3 separate regions of the Homo sapiens genome follow, and regions 1 and 2 are each linked to region 3. The links are contacts of gene promoters, found by promoter capture Hi-C in blood cells and fetal thymus (Javierre and others, 2016). All regions are on one chromosome and are shown on one strand. Each heading gives the region's core, a stretch centred on a gene start or on the middle of the fragment in contact. The rest is flanking DNA. Distances are from core to core; before and after follow the strand shown.

What was found. The method cuts DNA at HindIII sites, captures the fragments that hold promoters and counts their contacts. A CHiCAGO score of 5 or more calls a contact.
Region 1: a contact is called between a fragment that was not itself captured here and the fragment with the promoter of STAMBPL1 in region 3, in 1 of 17 cell types (neutrophils). The highest score is 5.5, in neutrophils.
Region 2: a contact is called between a fragment that was not itself captured here and the fragment with the promoter of STAMBPL1 in region 3, in 2 of 17 cell types (neutrophils and total CD4 T cells). The highest score is 5.1, in neutrophils.

Annotation. Positions count from the first base shown.
Region 1 is chr10:87,846,514-87,850,839 of GRCh38, reverse strand. No RefSeq gene overlaps it. Among named protein-coding and RNA genes, the nearest start is that of KLLN, 15 kb to the left of the region's middle. The HindIII fragment of the contact is 3,042 bases long and covers 9-3,050 here.
Region 2 is chr10:87,811,542-87,815,338 of GRCh38, reverse strand. It overlaps ATAD1 (ATPase family AAA domain containing 1), which reads left to right. Exons shown (of 10, transcript NM_001321967.2): 2 at 727-901. The coding sequence starts at 740. Among named protein-coding and RNA genes, the nearest start is that of ATAD1, 4.8 kb to the left of the region's middle. The HindIII fragment of the contact is 4,017 bases long and covers 1-3,797 here.
Region 3 is chr10:88,878,983-88,883,165 of GRCh38, reverse strand. STAMBPL1 (STAM binding protein like 1) reads right to left here and starts at 2,921. Exons shown (of 11, transcript NM_020799.4): 1 at 2,528-2,921. It overlaps LOC124902551, which reads left to right and starts at 2,502. Exons shown (of 1, transcript XM_047426134.1): 1 at 2,502-3,432. The coding sequence starts at 2,744. The coding sequence ends at 3,271. RefSeq lists enhancers at 1-1,192, 2,213-2,322 and a silencer at 2,903-3,032. The HindIII fragment of the contact is 2,730 bases long and covers 1,979-4,183 here.

The DNA.
Region 1 (4,326 bases), core at 280-2,779, 1.0 Mb after region 3:
AGAAAGCTTAATTCTAGATTTCATCAGGCCAATGTGTGCTGGAGAAAGGTTAGTTTGTCTCTGGTAAGAGGTGGTAGAGGTCTGCATATCTGCTTCTCTTTCTTGCACAAATATTTATGCTTATTAGCTTTGAATTTTTTCCCAAAAGCTAAATCTCAAAATACTAACATATTCTTGGATGAGTCTAGATAAAAATGATATCAGAAAAGGCAATACAAGGAACTTTATTCAAGTAATGCATGCACTAAGTTAAAAATTCTCCAGGGCTCACCACTATCCTTCCCCAGATAAGTGGCTTCCCCCCGCCCCCACCAGCTTTCCATTTCTTCCTCTTCTATTCATGTACAAATATACACACACACACCAAGGACAACTGCAAGAGAGGGCTGGGAGAAAGTTGCCAATCCTTTGTATAAGGCCTCAGTCTTTCCCTTTTCGTCCATCGTTCCACTCTCCTTTCTCCTGCCCTCTCTTGCCATTCTTTCTTCCAATCCCTATTTTTCTCCTCTTGACCTCTATCTTTCAAGATTCCCCTTATTAATATACAAGAAACTGATATGGCTGAGAGATCCCCTGGGAAGGTGATATATACAGGACTGCCAAGTTACACAACTGCAAGGGCCACAAGTGATATCATATGTGATGCTGTTGTTTTGTACCTTTTGATTTTTCAACCACATAAATGTGTAGTAGCTTTAATTTATATTTAAATCTTTTTGAATCTGACCTTGGTCCCCAATGGTAGACCACTGTTTAATTTCATGGTTACACTAAATAATAAAATAAAGCAGTTCTAGGCCCTGCCCAGTTATAAGTCTCTTATTAAACAATGTTTTAAGATCAATAGAATAAGTTCAAAAAATACTCCTATTGTGATTTAGATTTTTCTCTCTTGTAGGAACTTCAGAAAGAATACCATAGAAAAACCTAATGTCAGAACTAGCTTAGGAGGGAAATTTTATCTTTTCTAAATATAATAGAACAGTTCCCTTTTGTAGATTTTTGTTACTTAATTGTACTAAATGTACTACTTTTTTTTTTTTTCTTTTTTGAGACGGAGTGCCCAGACTGGAGTGCAGTGGGGCAGTCTTGGCTCACTGTAACCTCTGCCTCCCGGGTTCAAGCGATTCTACTGCCTCAGCCTCCCAAGTAGCTGGGACTACAGGCACACACCACTATGCCAGGCTAATTTTTGTATTTATAGTAGAGACAGGGCTTCACCATATTGGCCAGGCTGGTCTTGAACTCTGAACCTCAAGTAATCCACCTGCTTCAGCTTCCCAAAGTGCTGGGACTACAGGTGTGAGCCACCTCACGTGGCTTAAATATTTACATTTATTAAAGAAGGTACAGGTTTGCATTGCAGGGAACCCTAAAGAAAAATGAAGTCTCTAAGTAAAGTCATGGTACTTGAAAATTAATCTGGGAATATTTCAAATCCTTAACATAAATTTTATGAAGTCAGGGAACTGGGAGAAAGCTAATGGATAGAAACAGACCATTTTCAGAGAAAAAAAAAATAACCTCATTTACATACATGGCTCTGAGCCATAAGTCATTTCTGAAATTTCTTTTCTGGACATGGCATCTTTGTCTTGGCTAGCTCCCAGGGTGCAGCCCCAGGCCATTGGCTGCTGCCACTCATAGGACCACTGTTTTCCTACCTCACCTGTTGAAACAAGTAAGAGGGAGGACTTAATTAAGGTGTGCTTTATTCTTGTGTTCTTGTAGACTTGTTCATTGTAAAATAGGATTTTCTGCATTTCAAATCTTGTTTATTTTACAATGTTGTGGCATTTGTCCTATTAACTGGTCAACTTTTCCTTATGACTTGAATTTGGCACATTAAATGTTCTCACTCTTTTCAAGTAGAATTAAACTGAGTCCTGCTTGAGAATGGCCATTACTCTGTTTTTGAAATGTACTGTCCTTTGCAACTACATCCAGAAATCTGCAAACCAGAAAATGTTTGCCCTTATTCTTTTTTGTCCTTTACCTTATTCAGGGCAAACATTTTCTGGTTTGCAGATTTCTGGATGTAGTTACCTTGGTGGTTTAGTGGGCTTGAGTTTGTTTCAGAAGCTGAGTCAAGGAATCCTGACCCCTAGTTCTCCCAAACTGCACAAATTATTTCTAATAACCTTCTCCAGTAGACATCTGTTTATTTTGCAATTAATAGAGAGTAAAGAAGGCCTTAAAGGCATTTGTGCTTTAGGGCACTCAATGTAAATGAATTACGATGCTGTCTTTGTATAACATCTTGGTTGATGGTAGACTAATGATGCCCTTTAAAGAAAGAAATGTGAGAATCATGAATAAAAATACTTCCAGAAGTTGTCAAAAGCCACATTATAGAAAGAAATTTGGTGTCTCATAGAACACTGATGGATTACTACTCATTGCTCACCAGTTATTTAAATAAGGCGACCAAGGGATTTTTCCCAAATATAGAAGATTGCTATGACTTACATATATGGACAGAGGGACTGTTCCTGAGTCCTTGAGAGGCACAGCAATGTCCTCAGTGATGTGACTTCAGTGAAACAGTTACACAGCTTAGGAGACTCCAACACAAGCAATTCCACTTTTGGGTATAAACATCAGAGTAGTGGTCTTCAAATAGGAGAAATAAGGTTCTTAGTTTCAAGAGAATCAATTCCATAACTTCCATATACACTTTCTCCTAAATCTGATGTGCCTCAGAACTAGTGTAGTCAAGTGGACCTAGTAGTTCCTTGTCCCCATTTCCCCTTTCACAGTGCCCTTTATCCCACTTTAAAAGAGAACAGAATACCCCTCTCCATCTGAATGCTGAAACGATGTACTGCCTGAAAGTGTAAAAACCTGCAAGGAGCTAAAGAGATCATCTGCAATAATGATATTGCTGCTAAGTAGCTGAATAATTTTACCAACAAACCCTTTTAAAAGTTAACCTGTTTAACATTAATTTTTTTTCTGGTAAATTGAAGGAGAACCTATTGAAACTATTCATTGAAAAATCATTACAAATAAGATCACTAAGTGATGTATGACATATAATTTGGGAAGCTTTCAAATAAATGAGTAACACTGCTAAAACACTTCCTTTCACTCACCATCTACTTATGTGAATAATATTACTCAATGTTTACAACATAAAAGCAAAAACTAGGGATAAATGATCTAATGCTGAACTTGTCTCCTTCTAGGAATATATAAAATTCATTTGTGATATATAAACCAATTTTTTAAGCCCAGTTGATTTTTTTATATTTAATAATTATCAAAATTTAAAAGTATTTATTTGATTATACAAAAATATTAATGATAATTTGGAATAATTTTTAACACTGAGGAGCATTATGGTCCAGAAAATTTAACACAATTTAAATTTTTATAAAATTTGTTGCATGGAAATATGATACAGTCATCATCAATAAAAGATATTCACACATAATATATATTACATCCAAATAAAAATCTGTATCAGAATTGGAAAAAAAATTCAAGTTCAAAGAGAAAAAAGAATGATGTAAAATTTCCCATTGTAAAAAATGCTTGTTCGTTTTTTTAATGTTTTGATGGGCAATGGCAACAAATTACTATGGTATTTATGAATATTGGATACACTTAAGAATTCTACTTTAAATGTTACATAGGCCAGGCATGGTGGCTCACGCCTGTACTCCCAACACTTTGGGAGGCCGAGGCGGGTGGATCACCTGAGGTCAGGAGTTCGAGACCAGCCTGGCCAACATGGTGAAAACCCGTCTCTACTAAAAATACAGGTGAAACCCTGTCTCTACTAAAAATACAAAAAAAAAAAAAATTAGCAGGGCGTGGTGGCGGGTGTTTGTAATCCTAGCTACTCGGGAGACTGAGGCAGGAGAGAATCGCATGAACCCGGGAGGTGGAGGTTGCAGTGAGCCAAGATTGCGCCATCGTACTCCAGCCTGGGCAACAAGAGCAAAAACTCTGTCTCCAAAAAAAAAAAAAAAAAAGTTACATAACTAGGAAATTACTTCCTTTCCACCTACTTAAACTTAGAATAAAAAAGTTCAATTCTAACTCTACCATGTGTATAGAGGAAAAGTTTTTCCAAATTGTTTGTGGGATAAGCTAACAAAAAAGTTTAAAGACCCCTACTCTAGCAAAACTTTCATATATTGAAAGCAGAAACATATAGGGAAATTCATGGAAATATTATTTAAAACAGCAAAAAATTAGAATCTAAATGTTCCATATAGATAAATCAAATGTGATATTTTCATATGATAAAACATTATACAGCAGGTTAAACAAATAAATTAGATCAACTTATCAACATGGAAATTTTGCAAGCTTTAT
Region 2 (3,797 bases), core at 697-3,196, 1.1 Mb after region 3:
ATTGATGTAGCTGTTCAGGGATATATGCAAAAATAGGCACATTTATCTCATTTTTTTTCTCTTTAGCTTGGGTGAGTGCTGTATTCTTGTAGTAGTTGTCTCAGTTCAAGATTTTTCCAAGTTCTATTGCTTCCTACTTAGCCCGGTTGTTGGGAACAATAGTGTGGCTCAAAAAAGTTAATACCACTTATTACTGAGGAAATGGCATGTTTAAATTTAAGCAGGCCTTGAAAACCTTTAAAAGTATGTATGAGGAAAAAGTGAGTCAGTTCACAATTTGAATTTCACTCAAAAATTACCTGGTATATGATACAGTTAATAGAAGAAATTCTTACCGTCACATTAGTATTGTTGGGCTGCCTTTCTTCAGTTGGATTAGTGTTATAGTTGATACTTTCCTAGACTCTGAAATAGTTCTTTAAAGCTGTTTTGAGTAAATACCTTAAGATATTTACTGTATTTTTCAAATAAAATGATTAATTCTACTACCAAATAAATCTTAATTTCTAGTCTACTTCTAGTTTGCAAGAGGAGCTTTAAATGTATTTGTTTACTTAACATTTAAAAATCCATTTCTCCTTAAAATGAAACACTTTTTTTAAGGTAGGTAATATTTTAATTTGACTAGAAGTTAGTTTTTCTTTCTTAGTTTAAGCTACTTTGTTAGTCTTACAATTTTAATAAGTATAGTTATTACCTAGTGACATTTCTGTTTGTTTTTTTAAGGTTAACATTCAAGATGGTACATGCTGAAGCCTTTTCTCGTCCTTTGAGTCGGAATGAAGTTGTTGGTTTAATTTTCCGTTTGACAATATTTGGTGCAGTGACATACTTTACTATCAAATGGATGGTAGATGCAATTGATCCAACCAGAAAGCAAAAAGTAGAAGCTCAGAAACAGGTATGATTGAAATGTTTGAAGATCATTTTTCTTGTGGCTAACAAGTATTTTCCCCTCAAACTAAAAATTTGGTAGAGTTCACAAATTAATGAGAAATTCTATAAGACCCACATGAAAATGTATTGGTACTCATAGTTTTATTACTCTTACAAAGTACTAGTTTATTATGACATTATTTCAAGTCATTTTTTACTATATAAACAACTTATCAGAAGAAAAATGAATAAACAATAAAATATTGTGAACATCTTCATTAGAATATTTTTGTCAGCTTTGGAGGTAGGATCTAGATAAAAGTTTTTAGGCTAACCCAAAATATTTATCTTCAGTAATGATATGCCTTTTGCTGTGTATGACATCTGAAATGTGGATAATACTGAAACGCTCTCAGTCTTAAACTTATAAGCTACACTAAAATCTAATTAATGAATTGCTGTAAAAGTTGTTGATTATTAATATAAGCTGTAGTTTTTAACTTTTTATCTGCTGCCTCTTGTGTTCATTTCCTTTTAAAGGTGATTGGTTTCTGTTTGTCATCAAAACATAAAAACCTTAAAGGAGTCTTACAGATTTTTTGTGCTGTTAGGTGGCTTTTCCCTTCTGGCTCTTTTTTTTTAAACAATAATTAATAACTAAAATATTTATGTCTTATTGAATATCTTATGGTATAATAACATAATTTATCTTAAAATAATTAAATAGGATATTCATGGATTTTTAGATCTGTCTTGTGAGTTGTGACAGATTTATTCAATAAACATTTATTGAGTCCCTATCAACTACTTGGTACCAAAGAAAAAAGATGAATAAATCTTGTTCTTTCAAAATGCTATAGGCTATTGTGGGAAATAGGGATGTAAATAAATGACTGTTTTACAATGTTAGCCCTTAAATCAGTAAAAAGTGAAAACCACAATTTTATAAACACTGCAATAAGTATATATCTGAAAGGCACTTTGGAGAATTCTGAACTTTTTCCTTGAATTTTATTATAAAATAGTTGACTGAAGTTCTAGATGATATTATCAGCCTATTTGTAAGTCTCTGGGAAGTCTGACCAGGGTAGATTTAAAAAAAAAAAAAAAGAAAAACTAGTTTGAGTATATCCATATGTCAACCTAAGTGTTGGGTTTTTTTCTCCCACCTGAATCATGAAAGTCAGTTTAAGTATGATGTCAAAATATTATAAGTTACATCGTTTCAGCATTTTAAAAAGCAGAGGTGTGACTTTTAAAGATAATTTTGTCTTTTTTTCCCCTTGGCTTCTAAGAACTCCTGAATACACATATAGAAGACATACAGAAAGCTAAATATAGATGCTAAGTACTACAAGCCTTCATTGAAAATTATGTGTATAGTATTATTCTAAATATTAGGTATATGAAACATTAGATATTATGTCCTTCATAGTGCCCATGATAGGGAGAAAAGACTTGTTCATGATAATATAAATTATAATAGTAAGTAGCATATCCCAGTTGCTTATTGAGTAGTGTAGACAGAAACTGTGGCTCTTAGAGAAAATAGTAGTCACCAGTGATTGTGGTAGTTGAAGATGGCTTCATGAAAGAGCTTGGCCTCTAGGGTAGGCAAGGACAGTTTTAAATAGAATGCATTACTTTTTCCTTCTTTGGTCCTTTTTGTTTTGTTGGGTGGACTGAGGCTGATAAAAAATACACAGCATTTTAGAATCCATCATCAACTGAAAAGGAGGGATACTTTTTGCTTCTAGCATTATCCCATTCCACAGTAATTTACCAGTGTTTAAAACACTCAGGATGAAATGGGATTTGCTTGGCCAACGGCTATAGCTTCTTGGTTACCCCTCCTCTTCTCTTCCCTACATCTCTGACCAGCTGTTAAACATGCTGTTGACTGGCCATGTGGTGGCTCACGCCTATAATCCCAGCACTTTGGGAGGCCGAGACAGGCAGATCACTTGAGGTCAGGAGTTGGAGATCAGCCTGGCCAACATGGTGAAACCCCATCTCTAATAAAAATACAAAACATTAGCCGGACGTAGTGGTGCACACCCAGCTACTCGGGAGGTTGAGAATTGCTTGAACCCGGGAGGCAGAGGTTGCAGTGAGCCAAGATCACACCCCTGCACTCCAGCCTGGGCAACAGAGAGAGACTCCATCTCAAAAATAAATAAATAAATAAATATGCTGTTGACCAATTGAAGACTTCTGTAGGCTTAACTCATTAAATATATTTGAATGGGTGGGTGATATACAATGTTTTAAGGATAATTCACCTTATAGTAGTATGCAGAAGGAATAGGAGTCAAGAGGTACTAGAAGCAAGATCTGTTGGTGATAGACTGCAACAGTCCTGGCAAAGACTTAGAATAAGAGGGTGACAAAAGGAATGACTTGAGTGAAATAGACTAACACAAATGAATGCAGGAAGGACTTTGTGATGATGTGGGAAAAGAAAAAGGACATCTTAAAATCTTAAAAACGAACCAAAGATTTGTCTGGATACCTCAAAGACTTATAATATCTTTTATAGAGGTTTGGAAACTGGTAGGTAGGGCAAATTTATGAGAAGATGACATTTGATCTGGCCATGTTGGGTTTGTGTTGGTGGTAGGAATTCAGGAGGAAATGTTCATATAGCAATTGAAGTTGCAGGTCTGAATCTCAGAAAAAAGGTCAATCCAGAGGTATATTTCCTTATCGATGGTTATAAGTAGTTGAAGTCGTTAGAACAGTGAGTAGGCCATATGGTTATTCCTGTATGTGTAGATATCATTTGTAGAACTTTTCCCAAATTATTCCCCATCTCCCCTCACCACCATCAAGATTTATACATATATTTGTTGAGAAATTCTAATGTAATTGTCACTGTAATAAATGGTAATGACTATACTAAGAGTGATGAAGTCTCCAAA
Region 3 (4,183 bases), core at 1,672-4,171:
GGATGAAGCTGGAAACCATCATTCTCAGCAAACTATCGCAAGGGCAAAAAACCAAACACCGCATGTTCTCACTCATAGGTGGGAATTGAACAATAAGAACACTTGGACACAGGAAGGGGAACATCACACACTCGGGCCTGTCGTGGGGTGGGGGGAGGGGGGAGAGATAGCATTACGAGATATACCTAATGTAAATGACGAGTTAATGGGTGCAGCACACCAACATGGCACATGTATACATATGTAACAAACCTGCAAGTTGTGCACATGTACCCTAGAAGTTAAAGTACAATAATAATAAAAAGACATTCTAAAATTTGTCATTTATTTAGCAAATATTTATCAAAGAGCTGCTATGCATCAGCCCTAAGGAATGGAAATCTGGCTCTAATATCTTCAGGGATAACCATGAGTCATTTCCTGTAGTTTCAGTTGAAGCCATCTATAAATCTTTCATAAGGTCAAGAAAAAGAAGATAGTAGCAGACAGAATCACAAATCCAGTAGATTAATTAAAATGTCCCTAATTTGTAAATGTACCCACCAGGAAAGCACCTAGCACTTCCTGGACGGAATCTACATTATTTTCTCTCACATTCCTTCTACTTCTCATGTTTTGGGCAAGAATCATCAGTTTTCTTTTCTTGTAAAATGCAATCTCATTTCTTGGATTGTAGCTGTAAATTCTTACAGCTGGGAAGGGTCCTAAAGGAAGGAAATGATCAAACGGTGTTAATTAAGTCCTATGTGCTGAAAGTAAGAAGAGAGAACTATTACTAACAATTCTTTATAACTATTTTTATCAGTCCTTCTTAGGAATCAACCCCAAAGACACTCTCTCCTCCAGAAGCAAATCTCTCTATTGAGGACATCCTCAGGAAACTGGTTCCTCACTACTCCCTCCAAGCCTCCCACAAACCGTAAGAATCCTATGAAACAGGGCAAGAGTACCAAGAAACAGGCCTTGAAGGTTGAGATAGAGGTAAAGGACTTAGGTTATCTGCCTTATAATTTAAATTTTGGTGCTTACTTTATAGGTGAGGATAAGAAAACAAGTTTCTTCTTGAAATTCCCAAGAACCAGTTGCTACATAAATTACAGCCAACGTATACGCAAAAGCAGATTCTTAGTGGCAATTTGCTGTATCTGTGTCTGAACAGAAAACAATCAGCCAATTCATTTTGCAGGTAGATTCCAATAACATTTTATGCCTTTGAATGGAGAAGCTCTCATGGTGCAAATGGTAAACAAAAAGAGCCTACTGCTCAGCGACACATTAACTTGTATTAAAAATAAAGATATGTATAGTGTAGCTACACAATGCCCACTACAATCCAGTGGCAGAGTATATTTTTGAAGTGCAATGTAGCATCCATCCTGAAAACACAAAATTTCCAATGGAAACAAGGTCGGGATAAAAACAAAACACGGTGGCTTAATTTCTGTGTAAAACAACCGTCAAAACCTACCCTCAAAAAAATTGACACGAACAATCAAACATTCAGGTATAATTTATCTGCTGGAACAAATCTACGTTATTGACCTTGACAGGGCCTTAAATCATGAGACCATAAACAAGCATCCTAGTGATATCTATTATGTCTTCGGAAATAGCTTAAAATCCAGGACTTCATGTTATTGTCAGTAATGAGCAAGATGTTTGGAAAGCAGTGTGCTCACTGGGGCTTACTTTGAAAGCTGTCTTTTTTACTTACTACCGAACACTGATTTCCAGGAAGCAAGCCACCCCACCCCACTTCCCAGGCACTTGATTTTTTTTTTCAAACCTCTAGATTGGGTTCCGTTTCCTGAATTACTTATTCCTTACATAAATTTTCTTTTAAACTTCAGCAATTATGGCACCTTAGGCTCTGGGGGTATCAGCAGCGTGGGTTGTTTTAGAGAAAGTTCTGAAAAAAATATGTTTTGGAGACATTCCATTTCTTTGTGCATCTCACTGGGGGCTTTCAGCGAAAGCTTTAAGTTATTCAGGTGAGGGGCAATGTCTTAGTCGCTCATAAAGGGCATAAAAGTAACATCATCTGGAAAGGCATGGCACCTGCTCGGCCGGGGTAAAGGTCCGTTTTTCTAACCCTCGCCCCTCCCTCCTCCACACCGCGCCGCTAGAGACAGTGCAGTGGTCTCTCCCAAGGTCGACATCATCTCCAAGGCTGCAACCCAGGGCTGAACCAAAAAAACAGGCGCACCCACGTATAGGTCACGGCCAGAGTCCCGCCCTGCCACCAGCAGCCAGGTCTTCCTGCCTCCCTATCAAGGTGAAACTAACCCAGAGGGCCCAGCGGAGGGGCGCATACAGGCGGCGCCGATGGAGGCGGCCGATTGCATGACTGGCAGGAAGGAAGCGATCAGCCGCCAAAGTGCATTTTTTCCTCCCCTAGAGCCAGCCCGGGACCGGACGCTGCCAGCGGAAGGGCCGGCGCGCGCCAGGCCACGAGGCAGACGCACCCGCCGTGCGCACTTCCCCGTCCGGTGCGCGCTCTCACTCACGCGCGCGCGCCGCTACTCACTAGCAACCCTTGGTGTCCGCAGCCCGTGTGGGACGGCGACTGCGACGGCTGCCCCCGTGGCTGCCGTGTGGCCTTGGCATCCGTCCGGCTGCTGCAACCCGGGCCGCGGTGGCTTTTGCTGGAAGGCGTTGCAGCGGGGTGATACCGGCACCCGGCGACGAGGCGTCCGCTCGTTTGCCTCGGCCGTGCCTCCTCCCCCTTCTCCTCTGCCGACAGATGGAGCTTTGCTGGTTCCAGTCGCGCGGGCTCCGTGCGTCGTTCTCCTCCTCGCTGTCGGACACCCCAGCGCAGGGGACGAACAGCGTCCTCGCAAGCCCACGCGCAGGCCGGCCGACCCCGAACCTGCAGCAACCGTCCCTGCTGCCGCTGCTGCAGGAAAATAAATTGTCACTGCGATGGTCCCGGCCTCCCCTGCCCCGGCCCCTGGGTGCCGCCTCCGCCTCTGCCTCCGCCCCCTCCTCTGTGGCGGCGGCGGCGGCTTCCCGCATTCTGCAGAAAAAGCTCGCAGGTGGAAGGAAGCAGGGCCCCTGCGGATGGCCTAGAGCCCGAGTGAAGCGGTTGGGTGCGACTTTCGCATCTGAAACCCTGCACGTCTTCTCCCCAGACCGGAACCACCTAAACTCCCTTTTGCTCCACCATCAATTTCACCGAGATGGACAGGAGTGGTGCCTTTTAAGACTGCACAGTACACAAGCCTTGATGCAGCTGACCGTTAAACTGTCACTGGAGTCTGGGGAAGGATAGGGTTTTGGTGAAAATCCCACTTATACTTCATGTTAGGATTCCCTTTTTGATATTTATCCACAACTGGCTACGCCCACTATTAAGCATCTTAGCCCTTCCCCCTACCCCCAATTTGTGTGTACTTGGAAAATAAGAAGTATTAGAATATCTCCTGGATGTTATGTTACTATCACGTGTGGTGTTCTTACTACAGTTCTGGCACTGTGTCAGGCAGTCGGTACACAAAATCTTAGTCCATCTGCCACAACCCTGTATATAAAAGGGACTCATTTTTTGTTTTTGTTTTTGTTTTTTCCATGAACGAGAGACAGAGAAGTAAAATAATTTATCCCAGGTTACTCACCTAGAAAGCAGTAGAAGCTGAAATTTAAACTCTGATCCAACACTGAAAGCTGTTTCTATTGGCTTCACAGGTTCTATTAACTGATAAACATTTTATGGAGACTGCTGCTGCTGGATGAAATAGAGTCGCTTTTCTTGAGCTTGGTTGGGAGCTTACTTCCAAGTGAGAGAAATGGCTGCAGAGTGGGGTGGGGAAACACTGGCTTTTCTTAGTTAGCCTTTCCTCTGGAAACCAAAATTCTAGCCCTGGCTCAGCCACCAACTGAGTTATTTGGTCTCAAGCATTTCACCTTCTTAAGCCTCATCTCCCTGGATTCTTTTTTTTTTTTTAAATGAAGAGTTTGATTGTTGGAGGCAGCCTGCAGCCTTGATTTTTAAGAAGCAACAGTGTTGTTTTGCTTAGTTTTAAGTTGGTTCCAAATGTTGAAGTTAGGAAATTTCACAGAAATTCAGACTTTTCACATTTTCTGTAAAATCGTAACATCAGACATTTGGTCCATGGCGAGTTCTAGCAACCATCAGCTGAAGCTGAATAGCAGGTGTCGCCTTTAGACTGTGAAGACACTCTTC